5 separate regions of the Homo sapiens genome follow, and regions 1, 3, 4 and 5 are each linked to region 2. Evidence: promoter capture Hi-C in 16 types of primary human blood cells and fetal thymus (Javierre and others, 2016). All regions are on one chromosome and are shown on one strand. The core of a region is centred on a gene start or on the middle of the fragment in contact, and the rest is flanking DNA. Distances in the headings are between cores, read along the strand shown.

Region 1 (2,700 bases), core at 201-2,700, 300 kb before region 2:
GGAATGAGGACAGCATTCCTGGAAAAGCTTGATGGTGGTTTGAGTGTTCTGTAGTAAGATCATAAAAAAAAATAATAATAATTAGAAGAAAATTAGCTTTCCTAGGTTCAGTGAAAATTGCATTTGAATTCAACAATTAACCCCCCACAATATAAAAACTTCATTAATTATCACAGGGCTTTGCAATGGTATAAAAATTTTGACAAAATAACATGTCTAGCAGTGCCAGACATTTTTTGTCATTTGCGATAAGCAATCTTTGGAGGGAACTGAGAGGGGAAGCGAGAGAAGCTCACAGAAACAAGTCTATATGAAAATTTACTTTCCAGCAAAGAATACGGCAGAATTTTTTTTTTTTTACCTCTCGAAGTTCTTTGATTTTAGCACCTTTGACCCCAATAATTCCTCCTGCTAGACTCTGATGAATCAACAGCCTCAACTCGCAGTCAAAGTCACTTCCTTTATAGTGTTGGTACTGTGGAGGGAGAATTATAAAATTTTAGTCTCAAATCAACAATTCCCCAATACACACTTATCTGCTATAAGCATAACAATAATATACTGTTGCAGTGAGCAACCTGAATTTATATTTCAATAACTTTACCAGTTATGTGCTTATTATCCTCAATAGCCAGGCCCAAAAAGGACATTCTGCACCACCTTAAAAAACTATTTTATTTTCAGGTCCTGCAACACCATACCCACACTGCAGCCATTTAGCATGTCGCTGTTACCACAAAATTATTATTAACATTCAAATAACACCATAATAAAAATGACTGCAAAGCACTTTGCAAATGTAGTTAATTCCCACTGCAGCATGGAGCAGGGTCAACAGTGAGTTGTAAGACCATTCATGTATCATGTTTTTAAGCCTTTTTCTATAGAGATGGGAAAAGCACACTATGTTAAAAATATAATCGATCCTATGGGCCAGGCTCCATACTTCAGTGGGGTTCAATGGCACTATGACATACATTTAAGCATTCCACAGCATCAGATTCGAGCGGGAGCTGGCTGGTTGCAGTGGGTGATGGCAACTGCAGGCCCTGAAAGTAGAAAAATAAGAGTAATAGGTTAAGTGTCTAGCGTGATCAGGCTATTGTCGCATATATTGGTAAAGCTACTACAACATATTTTAAATCTATATTATTAAATAATGAGAAACTGCTTTATTCAACATTAAGACGATTCAAAACATAAAATATTTTTCTCTATATACACCTAGTGAATTATGTAGAGTCTTAAAATCCTAACTAAATCTAACTAATTCTCCTTTTCAACATGTTCCCACAAATATTCTAATTTTAAAAATCTTTCTGATAACTAAAGCCCATAAAATACATACTAAACCCATGAAAGCACATGACCACAGGTTAAGTTCACATTTACTCCAGGAGTGGCCAGCCTGTTTTTTTTTTTAAAAAAAAAAAAACAAATTACGCATGTACAAAATTATGTAGCAGGTTAAGATACTGCTACAAACTGTCATATCCATTGTCTCTCCACCTCCCCCATCATACCCCAATACAACATACTTTAAACATTCCCCCCTCATATTGTCAAATACATTTAAAAAAAAATGAGCCTACCTCTTCCAAGGTAGGGATGATTTTCTTCAGAATTTCTCCAATTGTTTCAATATCAGCACTGATACTCAATATGCTGTCAAACACCACAAATACCAGATAGTACAAAAAAGGTGGAAAAGAAAAATGAGTTTTGTGTTTGTCACCAAATCATACAAACTTTCACAGAGATGTAACACATGATTATTTAATATTCCCCATTTAAAGTAGCCTATTTATAGATTTCTCACATGCATTTTGTTTTATACCCAATACAGACATGATAACAATATTAGGAGACTTGCAGAGAGACAGAGAGAATGGGCTTTTGGAAGGGCTCAGATTAAGTGGGCAATAAACTGACCAGAACTGAAGCAGAGTTGAATATTTATGTTCCCCGCCACCACTGAGTTAAGGATACCCTTGCTGTTACATTGGTAAAACTGGCACACCTTCTCTTAGGCAAAGTGGGGGAATATGCAAGTGGTGAACATTGTATCTGGAGTAAGGTTATGAATACCAGTTAGAAATTAGATCACTAATGGGCTCTGCAAGAAAACAAATACAAATGCAAGACAAAACAAAGACAACACAAATGAGAAGTGAAGGAAAGTGAACCAGAGTTAGCATTTCATCAGAAAAAATTATGAACAGGCAATGTTGGGAAGCAAGGTGGGCCACAAAGACAGAGCGAGAGACTATTTTGGTAACAATTTGATTTACAATGCGGCAAATATGCAACACTTGAAGCTGTGCTCCTTCCATCGAAATAAAATTAGTGGATCGTTTGGGTGGGCAACTCACGGTAAAAGTTCAGTGACAAAAAGACTTAATGGGGAAAATAAGACAGAAACTTGAAAAACAATACACCGTCTAAAGGGGATACTATTTAATTATATAAAAGGCAGGTAATAAAATACATTTCTCTCTTTCTAATCAGGCAGTGAGGCATAAACTGTTGGGACATACCGCTCGGGGCCACTGCTGTCTGGGACTGAAACACTGGCATTGTACTGCATTGGTCATTGGCGTTCGTGGATGTTGGCATTGGGCATGGGCATTCAATCAGAAGTTGTCAAGTATGGTACCCGTTTGGCAACGAGCACATTTTTGGGCATAGCCAACCAGGGTT
Region 2 (2,700 bases), core at 146-2,645:
CTATTTTCACATAGCTTTTTCTTTTAAATTACTCTTGTACACAAACAGAAGGAAAAATAGAAACAAAATAAATTACTTAAGGTATTTCAAAACCTTTTTCACATTCAGTGTCTGTTTCTTGACTTGGTAATTGATGTTTGTGTTTTCTCACAGCATGTGGTCTTCATGCTATTAAGAGCAGTGGTGATGGGCATTTCGTTAAAGAGCACACCACCATTGTCTCTGGAATCTTTTTCTTAGACACTGACACCCATTCTTCAAGTTTGATACTGATGCCATCCTGGTCAATGAAATTATCAACGCAAGGTTTTCAGAGCTCAACCAGGACTTTTTTTCCTCAACTGCTTCTTACACGGCTTTTGATTGAAGAGTAGCTGCTTTGTCACCAGGAATACATTACCAAATGTGCAGATGAATAGGCCTACCGTTATGGCCTACAACAGGATGGCTCCTTGAAGGGAGACATGGATATTATGTACCCTTATGGTGTATCATATTACTTCTGCAAAATATTCACTATCCCTCCCTATGACAGGATAATTTAACTGTGGTGACTGACATCGTGCCTGTCACAGGACTTGTTTTGGCTAATGGAATGTCATGGAAGTAAAGGGTATCATTTCCTAGCGGAAGATGAAAGAGCCATCATGTGGTTCCCACCTTTCTTTTCCCTCTTAAGACCAACATGCCCCCCTTAGAGGCTGCTCCTTTAGACTGGGTGCTGAAGCAATATGGATTACAACCAAGATGGATCATTACAAACATGTGAGTGAAAAATAAATCTGTAAGCCACTGAGGTTTTTGGGTTGTTTGTTTCTGTAGCGTAATTTATGGTTAAACTGACTGATAGAACTCTTAAGCAGAATGGATTTAAACCCTGGTTTTGGTATGATCCACGTGTTCTCCTCAAGGACTCTTGATTTCTGCAGGACTTCCTGAGGGTAGTCAATGAGTTGGTGATTGATGACTAGTTTTCCCTTATGTGAGATTCAAGTTCAGGCTATTTCAGGTAAGCCAAGGTATATGCAGAGTGACCTCACCTGAGATGTGCTTAAACTGAGTCACCCTGGACTACTTAGTGGACACTAAGTGGGTGTGGGTGAGTCAGAGCCCAGTTGTTGGGAGCGGCCGTTTATAGCTGTATTCTGGTGAAATGCCTTGCAAACATTAAAGTCAGAAAATCCCATTGAGACTGGAATCAACAACACCTCACTTTGGGACATCATAGCAGTTCTTGGTGGGGAAGGGGCTGGTGGGGAGGGAGGGGAGGAGGAAAATGTTGTAGCTTTGAAGGTCCACTCTTGTTTTTCTTCATTCCTTGCAATTAAAGCTGATTCCATTATGGAAGCATCAATCTGTGGACAATAGCTTCTTTTTTTTTTCTTTCCAAAGCAGAAAATTCAGCATCTGTACTTCAGAGTTCCACTGGAGAAGTGGCTGACCTCAAAATGTATTAGAGATCCCATTGCAGTTAAAGGTCGATGGATTCAACAATGTGCAGCAGCCCTTCAAAGAATACAGACTGTGGTTTCCTCCTGGGATGACTTCACCAGGACCCTTGGCAACAGTGCTGGTGGAAAGTGGAAAGAAACAGTTACATGAGCCATAGATGGCAGAAACAGTAGGTGAGCAGACAATGACATTAAAAATAGTTCAGGGCAGGAAGCTGATTTTCTTGCTCACATTCTGGTTAGGGTGGATTAAAGGACAGAGACACTGGGGAATTTGTTTTGGCTCCTAAATTCTGGGTGTCCTCAAGAACTTTCCCTATTTCCTCCATAACAAGCAAAGATAGGATAGAATCAATCCTTATAAAACACTTGCACATTAAGGATGGCACCTTGTGTGGGAACACTGATTTTGCAAATTAAAACTGTACAGGGTGGGGGTGGCTGGCATGGGTCACTGGTAGTTTCTTGTTCACCATAGACGATCATCGTGTTGTCTGGACAGCCTGGATCCCCTTGAAGGGGAGCCAGCAGAGGGTAGCAGTTAAGGGCATAGGCTTAGCAGGAAGATCAGCCTGAATTTTGTATCTCACTTGTACTTGTGCTAATTTTGCTGGAGTAGACATAGCTTCCCTAAGCCTTAATTTTGTGGAATGAAAAAAAAAAAAAAAAGATAGTGCCCAACTTATACAGTAGTTGCAAGGTTTAAGTGAGCTAATTCATACAAAGTGCGTAACACACAGCTGGGTGCATATTAAATGCTTGAGTAGCACTAGCTAGTGTTATAGTTGCTAGCCTTATCTGAGAAAAGTCAGAGTGAAAGGTGGTTAGAATCACTGCATAAGTTCTTACTTTTAAATAGAGTCATAAAGTTATAAAATTAAGTCGATGAGTGAGCGGAGATTGCGCCACTGCACTCCAGCCTGGGAGACAGAGCAAGACTCCGTCTCAAAAAAAAAAAAAAAAAAGTAAGTGGATATTTAGGTGTGATTTGATTGATTATTAATGGAGTATAAAGAAATTATAATCAAGAATACAATACCTGCTCAACAGACTTTGGCAACAAGCTATCACCTTGGTTGTGTTTCCAGGGAAAGTGGAGTTGAAGGCATTCTCTAAAACGTGATGGCAGTTGATGTCCACAGGAGTGCTGGAGAGTATGCCTAGAAGTGGAACAGAGTCCCATTTATTTATTATTTTTTAGTTTTATTTATGTATTTATATATTTATTTATTTAGAGACAGAGTCTTGC
Region 3 (2,700 bases), core at 186-2,685, 490 kb before region 2:
CAAGGCCAAAATTTCAGAAATGGCCTTCTACTTTATTTGATTTGTAGTGCAACTCTGGCAGAGGGTCTCTCAATAAATGCCCCTGTACTGTAATAGCCCATATTAAAATTTTAAATCCACTTATTTTCTATGTTCATTTAAAATTAAAATAATCGGCAGGGCACAGTGGCTCACACCTGTAATCCCAGCACTTTGGGAGGCCAAGGTGGGTGGATCAGCAGAGCTCAGGAGTTTGAGACCAGCCTGGCCAACATGGCGAAATCCCATCTCTACTAAAAAAACAAAATGTAGCTGGGTGTGGTGGCTCACGCCTGTAGTCCCAGCTACTCAGGAGGCTGAGGCGTGAGAATCGCTTGAACCTGGGAGGCGGAGGTTGCAGTGAGGTGAGATCATGCCACTGCACTCCAGCCTGGGCAAGAGAGTGAGACTCGGTCCCAAGAAAAAATAATAATAAAAATAAATAAAATTAAATTAAAATCATCTGTTGTGAATTTTATTCTCTCTCTTCCCTTCATCTTGGGTGGGGAAATTCCTTAACATTCCAAGTCACCGGACAAAGCTTAATTCCAACTGTTTCTGTTCTATCTCAAAACTTGAGAAGGAATCCTATTATAAACACTTCTTGGTAATATTTTATTATGGTAATGAATTTTTGGACAAACTTTTACAGAAAAATTTTATGTAAAATTCAAGTAGGTTGATTTTAACCTCTCACCACTTAAACTTCTAAAATATCTAAATCAGTAAGTATGTAAATACCTTTTTGTGCTCTTCATATTCTAGTTTACTTAGTAACAATGCCTTCTCAAGATCTGCTTCAAACATTTCAGATGTCAGCTACAAAAAAAAAGTTTCACAATAAACAGACAGTATCATTACATCACATGAGCAAAATAACCATACATATTACTATATACAGAGGAAAAGAAAGCAAATATGTTAAAAAACAATATGGATTCTCCAAAGTTATCTAACCATGCCAAACTAGGAAGCCTATATTCTATAGAAGACATCAAAATACAAACTTCCAATTTTGAGATTTCCATTTCTCCTCTTCATTGTTATCTATTATATATGATATAATCTTACTTTTTACCTTAATAAAAAAATCTTACCAAATAATTGGCACTATAATAGATGTCAAAGGCAACATTCAGTTTAGGACACTAAAAATTATGAGTGATTATTACTCAAAAATATAAGAATACTAAAAAATAACTCAATAAGCATTATTAAACACAATATGCCATTTCATGAATATAGAAAAAACCACAGGTACAAAATAAGTTTGCCAAATGTCCTGGCATATGCCAGGTGTTACAGAATAATTGTTCATAGTGCATCTTTTTACTCTCAAAATGATAAACTATATGGTTGCTTTAAGTCATCTAATAATGATTCTTTGTGATATATATTTGTTTCTCTTTTTCACTAATCAATCTCACCTAACTTTTTAAAATCCAGTTTTCACCACCCTCCAATCCAATTAATCTCTACAAGACTTACTTTTCCTAATTGCCAAACAGAATGTTGCAGTAGTTGGATGCGACTTTGAGTTGTCCACTACTGGGCATAAGGTGAGTGGGTTTGCAGCTGTATATAAGATAGCTGCAACATGACATGGGTAAACATCCTGGATTTGTGTACATGTATGTGTCTATGTGTACAGGATAACAAAAGCATAAATTTAGTGGGCATCTCTTGTTTTTATCTGTCCAGAATCCCTTCCTCGATTCCTTTAAATAAGTGCACTTCATTCCAAAGTCCCATGGTTTCAGCAGAACAGCCAGTCGCATAATTCTGTACACTAAGCACTACCATACCACACAAACACCCAAGCTATCATCACCAATGACAAAAGGTGGGGGCAAGTGATCCAATTCCTTTTTTTTCCTCCCAGGAATTAAATTTTGAGAACAAAGGAAAAGCAGGTGGGTTTAATTATCTGATGATAACCCTCGAAAAATGACATCTACTAGCTCATGCCTCTGAGCACTCCCAAATTCCTTGGTTTCCAGCTTTTTCAAGACCTAATTATTTAGTTTTTAATTCAAATCTGTGAATCACTCAGTATCCTTCAAAAAAGGTTTTTGGCTAAGTTAATCATAATTGTTTCTATTACTTAATGATTTTTAAAAATCTAAACTAAAATAGAAACCAACTCCAAAAAGAAGTGATCTGTTTCAAGGAGAAACCTTAAAAACTAGAAAAATCTTAATAGACACTATGAACTAAACATTTCTAAGCAAAGTCATCCCTTTGAAAGCATCTAATCCTATGCTGATACAATAAAAAGAGAGGAAAAAAAGATTAAGCTTACACAGAAAAACAATCGAATGCAGAAAAATACAATTAGAATTAAAATGGTAAGGATATATAGAACTAGAAAATCAGATTAAGCCCAGTGTAAATTATACATACTTTATGGAATAACTGAAAAGAATTGAAGAATTACTCTGAACTAGTAATTAGCAAGAAAAAGTAATAAATTAATCTTTTAGTCTTACTATATACACTTATGTACATGGGTATTCAATGGTTATAAGGTAAAAGGAAATTTCCATCAATTTCTCCACCTAACCTCATGGCAAACTGATAATAAAATGTTTCACTAAACTTAAAGGACAGTAATCATCCTAACAGAAAAATTAACAAAACTAGGCCGGCACAGTGGCTCACGCCTATAATCCCAGCACTTTA
Region 4 (2,700 bases), core at 150-2,649, 360 kb before region 2:
ATTCATACAGAGAATACTAACTAAAACTTTAGACAATGATGCATATGTGCACTACTCAAAAGTTTGTTTTTAGTGGAAAAATATAAATACAGTAAACAATCTTAACAGAGGACTTGGCTGTCAATTCCCCCACTCTATTACCAGACACTTAACTAAAATGATTTCCAAGGTTCCCTTCAGCTCTATATGAGATCCTATGATTCCATCTTTTCCAAACTACAATTATAAGCAGGAGAAATTATGTCCTAAAATATTCAGAATTTAAAAAAGAAATCTGGCTAGAATATGAAAAAGAAAAGATACTTTACATAATAAATTTTTCCTACGGTCCCTAAGTCCTGATTGCGGGACTCTTAATATTTACAACTGGCTTGTTAAAGAATGCAAAATCTAATCATGTTAACTCATTTATCTCTATTTTAAATTCTGTTCAAAATAACAAGGGCTGACCACTGAAAACTATTTTAAACTTCTTTCCTCAAGCAAATATAATCCTAAGTTAGATTGCTTAATGAAACTTCAATATTTAAAAACGAATCTTTCAAAGATGATGATCTTATGATCACATTTGATTACATGATTCATTCCTTCACTATTCAATCAATATGCTAAACACCTACCATGTGTCAGGTATTGGTCATATTTTTGCTTCTTTCTAGCGTCACAAATAAAAGTCAAAGAGTATAAGAATCTTACCAATATGGCCCCCTCCAATGGTGTATGTCTTCCCAGATCCAGTTTGTCCATAGGCAAAAACAGTTGCATTATAGCCCTCAATGAGTGACAACACTAGGGGCTTTATACATGTGTTATAAACTTCATCTTGAGTGGAATTTTTGCCAAAAACAAAATCAAAAGTGAAGACTCTATCTCTCCCAATGATAACTTGCTGGCTGTTTGGAATAACTCTCACACAAACTTGATGATTATGAAGAGCTTCTTTGCAAAGCAGAGGTCTAATTCTTACAGCAACTTTTACTGGTATTTCTTCCATGGCAACTTAGATTTTACTAAATAGATTTTCTATTTAATGTTCAGTATCTAGTGTGAGAGACTTCCATCTTATGTAAGATCTGGATTCCTGTGCAACAAAAATAAAAAGCAAATTTTAATTACTGATTCCTTGTATCCCAATAAACTAACCACCTTCTAAAGCAAAGTCAATTAGAACAGGTTTTGTTCCAATACAACACAGTTACAAAGAGTAAGCCTGTCTTGTAAAATACATCGTAAATTTGTAGACAAACTAGTATGTCTTGGGTTTGCTTCAAAATAATCTAGGTGTGGGGTCCATGAGTTGATAAATGATGAAGCTAGGTGATAAGTACATGGGATTCCATTGGGCCTTTATTTCTACAGTAATAATGTTTCCCAGTTCATTAATCTAAATATTAAATAACCAGGGAGTTAGAAAATTAAGGCAAGGAGATAAGTAAGGAACTGTACACACGTTTTTTTGTTTTTTGAGATGGAGTCTAGGCTGGAACGCAGTGGTGAGATCTCGGCTCTCTGCAACCTCTGCCTACCAGGTTCAAGTGATTCTCCTGCCTCAGGCCTCTCGAGTAGCTGGGGTTACAGGCGCCCGCCACCACACCCAGCTAATTTTTGTATTTTTAGTAGAGACAGGGTTTCACCATATTGGCCAGGCTGGTCTCAAGCTCCGAACCTCAGGTGACCCGCCCGCCTCGGCCTCCCAAGTGCCAGGATTACAGGCGTGAGCCACCGTGCCCAGCCTGTACATGTGTTAAAAACAAACATTAGTACTAGATTTTATAGCTATGCATTGAAAAATAGCATCTCCTCTTTGCCACAATTATTAGAAATAAATCCATGAAAATAGTTTTAAGAATTTCAATAAGTCAACATAAATTTAAAACTAAATTTGTATTCAAAAATAATCAAAACTAACAGAAAAACTGCTTTTTCTACTTCTAAATATTATGTTGTACTTATTTCTGAAGATCTCTGCTAGAATTAATACATTAAAATTTAAATTGATGGCTGTAGTTTCCTGGCTAAAAATATATATAAACAAATAATTGGTAACTACATTTACAATGAACACTTTTTTTTTTTTTTTTTTTGAGACGGAGTCTCGCTCTGTCGCTCAGGCTGGAGTGCAGTGGCGCGATCTGGGCTCACTGCAAGCTCCACCTCCCGGGTTCACACCATTCTCCTGCCTCAGCCTCCAGAGTAGCTGGGACTACAGGCACCCGCCACTATGCCTGGCTAATTTTTTCTATTTTTAGTAGACATGGGGTTTCACCGTGTTAGCCAGGACGGTCTCGATCTCCTGACCTCGTGATGCGCCTGTCTTGGCCTCCCAAAGGGCTGGGATTACAGGCGTGAGCCACCGCGCACGACAGAACACTCTTTTTTTTTTAAATATATATATTTTATTATACTTTAAGTTCTAGGGTACATGTGCACAACGTGCAGGTTTGTTACATATGTATACATGTGCCATGTTGGTGTGCTGCACCCATTAACTTGTCATTTACATTAGGTATATCTCCTAATGCTATCCCTCCCCCCTTCCCCCACCCCACAACAAGCCCCAATGTGTGATGTTCCCCTTCCTGTGGCAGAACACTCTTAAAAATAAATGTAAAAAACAATTCCATTTACAATAGCATCAAAAAGAATAAAATACTTAGAAATAAATTTAACAAAAGATGTGTAAAACATATAGTCTGAAAA
Region 5 (2,700 bases), core at 32-2,531, 280 kb before region 2:
GTTCTAGATCCTGCATTAGGTCCTTCTGATGAAGAACTCTTGGCAAGTCTTGATGAAAATGATGAGCTTACAGCAAATAATGACACTTCCTCAGAACGATGTTTCACCACAGGTAGTTCCTCAAATACCATTCCCACAAGACAGTCAAGTTTTGAGCCAGAATTTGTTATTTCTCCAAGACCAAAAGAGGAACCATCAAACCTATCTATACATGTAATGGATGGAGAATTAGATGACTTTTCACTGGAGGAGGCCTTGCTTTTAGAAGAAACTGTCCAGAAAGAACAGATGGAAACTAAGGAATTGCAACCATTGACTTTTAACAGAAATGCCGATCGAAGTATAGAGAGATTTTCACATAATCCTAATACTACGAATAACTTTTCTTTGACTTGCAAAAATGGAAACAATAATTGGAGTGAAAAAAATGTATCTGAACAAATGACTAATGAAGACAAATCATTTGGTTGTCCATCTGTTAGAGACCAAAACAGGAGTATTTTTTCAGTTCATTGTAATGTACCCTTAGCCCATGATTTTACAAATAAAGAAAAGAACTTAGAGACAGATAATAAAATAAAACAAACCAGCAGTTCAGATAGCCATTCCTTAAATAATAAAATATTAAATAGAGAGGTGGTCAACTATGTACAGAAAAGGAATTCACAAATTTCTAATGAAAATGATTGTAATTTACAGAGTTGTTCTTTAAGATCATCAGAGAATAGCATTAATCTTTCTATTGCCATGGATTTGTATTCTCCACCCTTTGTCTATTTGTCTGTTCTAATGGCCAGCAAACCAAAGGAAGTTACAACAGTGAAAGTGAAAGCATTTATTGTAACCTTAACTGGAAATCTCTCAAGTTCTGGTGGTATTTGGAGTATAACTGCAAAGGTGTCTGATGGTACTGCATATCTAGATGTAGACTTTGTGGATGAAATACTTACTAGCTTGATAGGGTTCTCAGTACCAGAAATGAAACAGTCAAAAAAGGATCCTCTTCAATACCAAAAGTTCCTGGAAGGGTTGCAGAAATGTCAAAGAGATCTAATAGATTTGTGCTGTCTAATGACTATTTCATTTAATCCTTCCTTGTCTAAAGCAATGGTACTGGCATTACAAGATGTTAATATGGAACACCTTGAGAATCTAAAGAAGCGGTTAAATAAATAATTAAACTAAAATAGTATTAGGAACAATTAAAAACAACAAGGAAATATTTAGAATTTGTTCACAATTTTACTTATGATACTTTGTGTAAAAAGGAAAAATGAAATTTCATAGCTTATTTCAGTTTAATTTTAAAGTGTTTAATCATGTTTGTTATATGTGGAGCTTTTGAAAATAAGTTAATCTTTTTTTTTTTTTTTTTAATGTCAGGGTATTGCTCTGTTGCCCAGGCTAGAGTGCAGTGGCATGATCATAGGTTATTGCATCAACCTCTTGAGCTCAAGCGATCCTCCTGCCTTAGCCTCTTGAGTTGCTGGGACTATAGGCATGTACCACCATGCCCAGCTAATTTATAATTACTATTATTGTTTTGTAGGGACAGAGTTTTGCTATGTTGCCCAGATTGGTCTCAAACTCCTGGCCTCTCACTCCTGCCGTCATGGCCTCCAAAGTTTACTTTTTTTAAAAGTAACTGTTAGATGGAGGAATATGGTGACCCACTATTGTTGAGAAATTTGTTTTCCACTTGTCACGTCACATAAGATGATTGCTAAAATATTGTACTGGTGTTCGGTGGTGAGTCATATTTTTGAAAGTTAATAATTATAAATAGGTAATTTCCTTCTAATATGTTGGTACTGTCTATGGCCATACCACCCTGAACATGCCTGAGCTTGTCATAATATGTTGAGTACCCAAAAGATTTGTTTATATTGTTAATCTTAGGGAAAAAAAATTAAAATCCAGTAGATCAGAACATCAGGCTTTCAGATACAAATTGATTTACTGGTTTTTATTTTGCTGATTATAATATTTGGTATATTTAAGGTAATCTAGTTAACTAGATGCTATTTCATAGATTATATTGAATGATTTAAAACTTTATTTTCAAGGATAGTTTATTTTAAATGGCATATTGAAAACATCATTATTAAGATCCAGTAGGTAGGACATTTATTGGATTAAAATGAAGCATTTATCTATGTCTTTAGGTGTCATTGTTCCCTTTCTGAATTAGCTGTACATATAAGCCTTCCTTTGGTTTTAAGTACTGATTTTTTTTTAAAAAAAAGAGGGACTGTTTACCATTCTTCCACTGTGCTGTTATAAAGTTGTATTTGAAAGGTAATGTTGTTTTTATTAATCTTTTGTCTTAAAATAATTTAAAGTGCTTTGAATTTTAAAACATTAAACAAATCCTTAAATAACAAAATACATTGGTGTTTTATTTTATTGAAAATAATGTAACGAAATATCAGGAAGTAAGATAAATACATGTATGATGTATGATAATAGAAGTAGAAGAGAAAGATTTTAAAATATTTTCATTGTTGTATCAGGGTTCAAAGCACCAGGACACAGATATTGCTAATATATGCCCTAGTAATAATCTTGTCTATATACTTGCATAGCTTTTTAATAAGTGATCTGAATGGGATAGCTTTATCTTTCATTATCTTTTCATTAAATTTTCTCCTTCTATACTCTCATCTCTGTGAATGGGGCTTGAAAATTGGGATTAGAACT

The links. Contacts are between HindIII fragments. The CHiCAGO score rates a contact against its expected background, and 5 or more counts as called.
Region 1: a contact is called between a fragment that was not itself captured here and the fragment with the promoter of SLC28A3-AS1 in region 2, in 8 of 17 cell types (naive B cells, total B cells, M0 macrophages and 5 more). The highest score is 15.8, in naive B cells.
Region 3: a contact is called between a fragment that was not itself captured here and the fragment with the promoter of SLC28A3-AS1 in region 2, in 1 of 17 cell types (neutrophils). The highest score is 6.7, in neutrophils.
Region 4: a contact is called between a fragment that was not itself captured here and the fragment with the promoter of SLC28A3-AS1 in region 2, in 2 of 17 cell types (total B cells and neutrophils). The highest score is 5.6, in total B cells.
Region 5: a fragment that was not itself captured here is called in contact with the fragment with the promoter of SLC28A3-AS1 in region 2 in 2 of 17 cell types (naive B cells and total B cells); the score reaches 6.8 in naive B cells.

Annotation. Positions count from the first base shown.
Region 1 is chr9:83,972,925-83,975,624 of GRCh38, forward strand. It overlaps HNRNPK (heterogeneous nuclear ribonucleoprotein K), which reads right to left. Exons shown (of 17, transcript NM_031263.4): 6 at 2,538-2,581; 7 at 1,593-1,665; 8 at 978-1,049; 9 at 362-475; 10 at 1-48. It overlaps HNRNPK-AS1 (HNRNPK antisense RNA 1), which reads left to right. Exons shown (of 2, transcript NR_186535.1): 2 at 2,509-2,700. Among named protein-coding and RNA genes, the nearest start is that of HNRNPK-AS1, 2.2 kb to the left of the region's middle. The HindIII fragment of the contact is 2,850 bases long and covers 26-2,700 here.
Region 2 is chr9:84,276,775-84,279,474 of GRCh38, forward strand. SLC28A3-AS1 (SLC28A3 regulatory antisense RNA 1) reads left to right here and starts at 1,396. Exons shown (of 2, transcript XR_001746802.1): 1 at 1,396-1,625. It overlaps SLC28A3 (solute carrier family 28 member 3), which reads right to left. Exons shown (of 18, transcript NM_001199633.2): 17 at 2,491-2,611; 18 at 1-1,570. The coding sequence ends at 1,444. RefSeq lists enhancers at 1-481, 614-1,813. The HindIII fragment of the contact is 13,311 bases long and covers 1-2,700 here.
Region 3 is chr9:83,787,842-83,790,541 of GRCh38, forward strand. It overlaps GKAP1 (G kinase anchoring protein 1), which reads right to left. Exons shown (of 13, transcript NM_025211.4): 5 at 760-837. Among named protein-coding and RNA genes, the nearest start is that of GKAP1, 29 kb to the right of the region's middle. The HindIII fragment of the contact is 1,756 bases long and covers 558-2,313 here.
Region 4 is chr9:83,914,598-83,917,297 of GRCh38, forward strand. It overlaps KIF27 (kinesin family member 27), which reads right to left. Exons shown (of 18, transcript NM_017576.4): 2 at 697-1,081. The coding sequence starts at 994. Among named protein-coding and RNA genes, the nearest start is that of KIF27, 5.5 kb to the right of the region's middle. The HindIII fragment of the contact is 6,796 bases long and covers 1-2,700 here.
Region 5 is chr9:84,001,689-84,004,388 of GRCh38, forward strand. It overlaps RMI1 (RecQ mediated genome instability 1), which reads left to right. Exons shown (of 3, transcript NM_001358291.2): 3 at 1-2,386. The coding sequence ends at 1,176. Among named protein-coding and RNA genes, the nearest start is that of RMI1, 22 kb to the left of the region's middle. The HindIII fragment of the contact is 3,800 bases long and covers 1-2,700 here.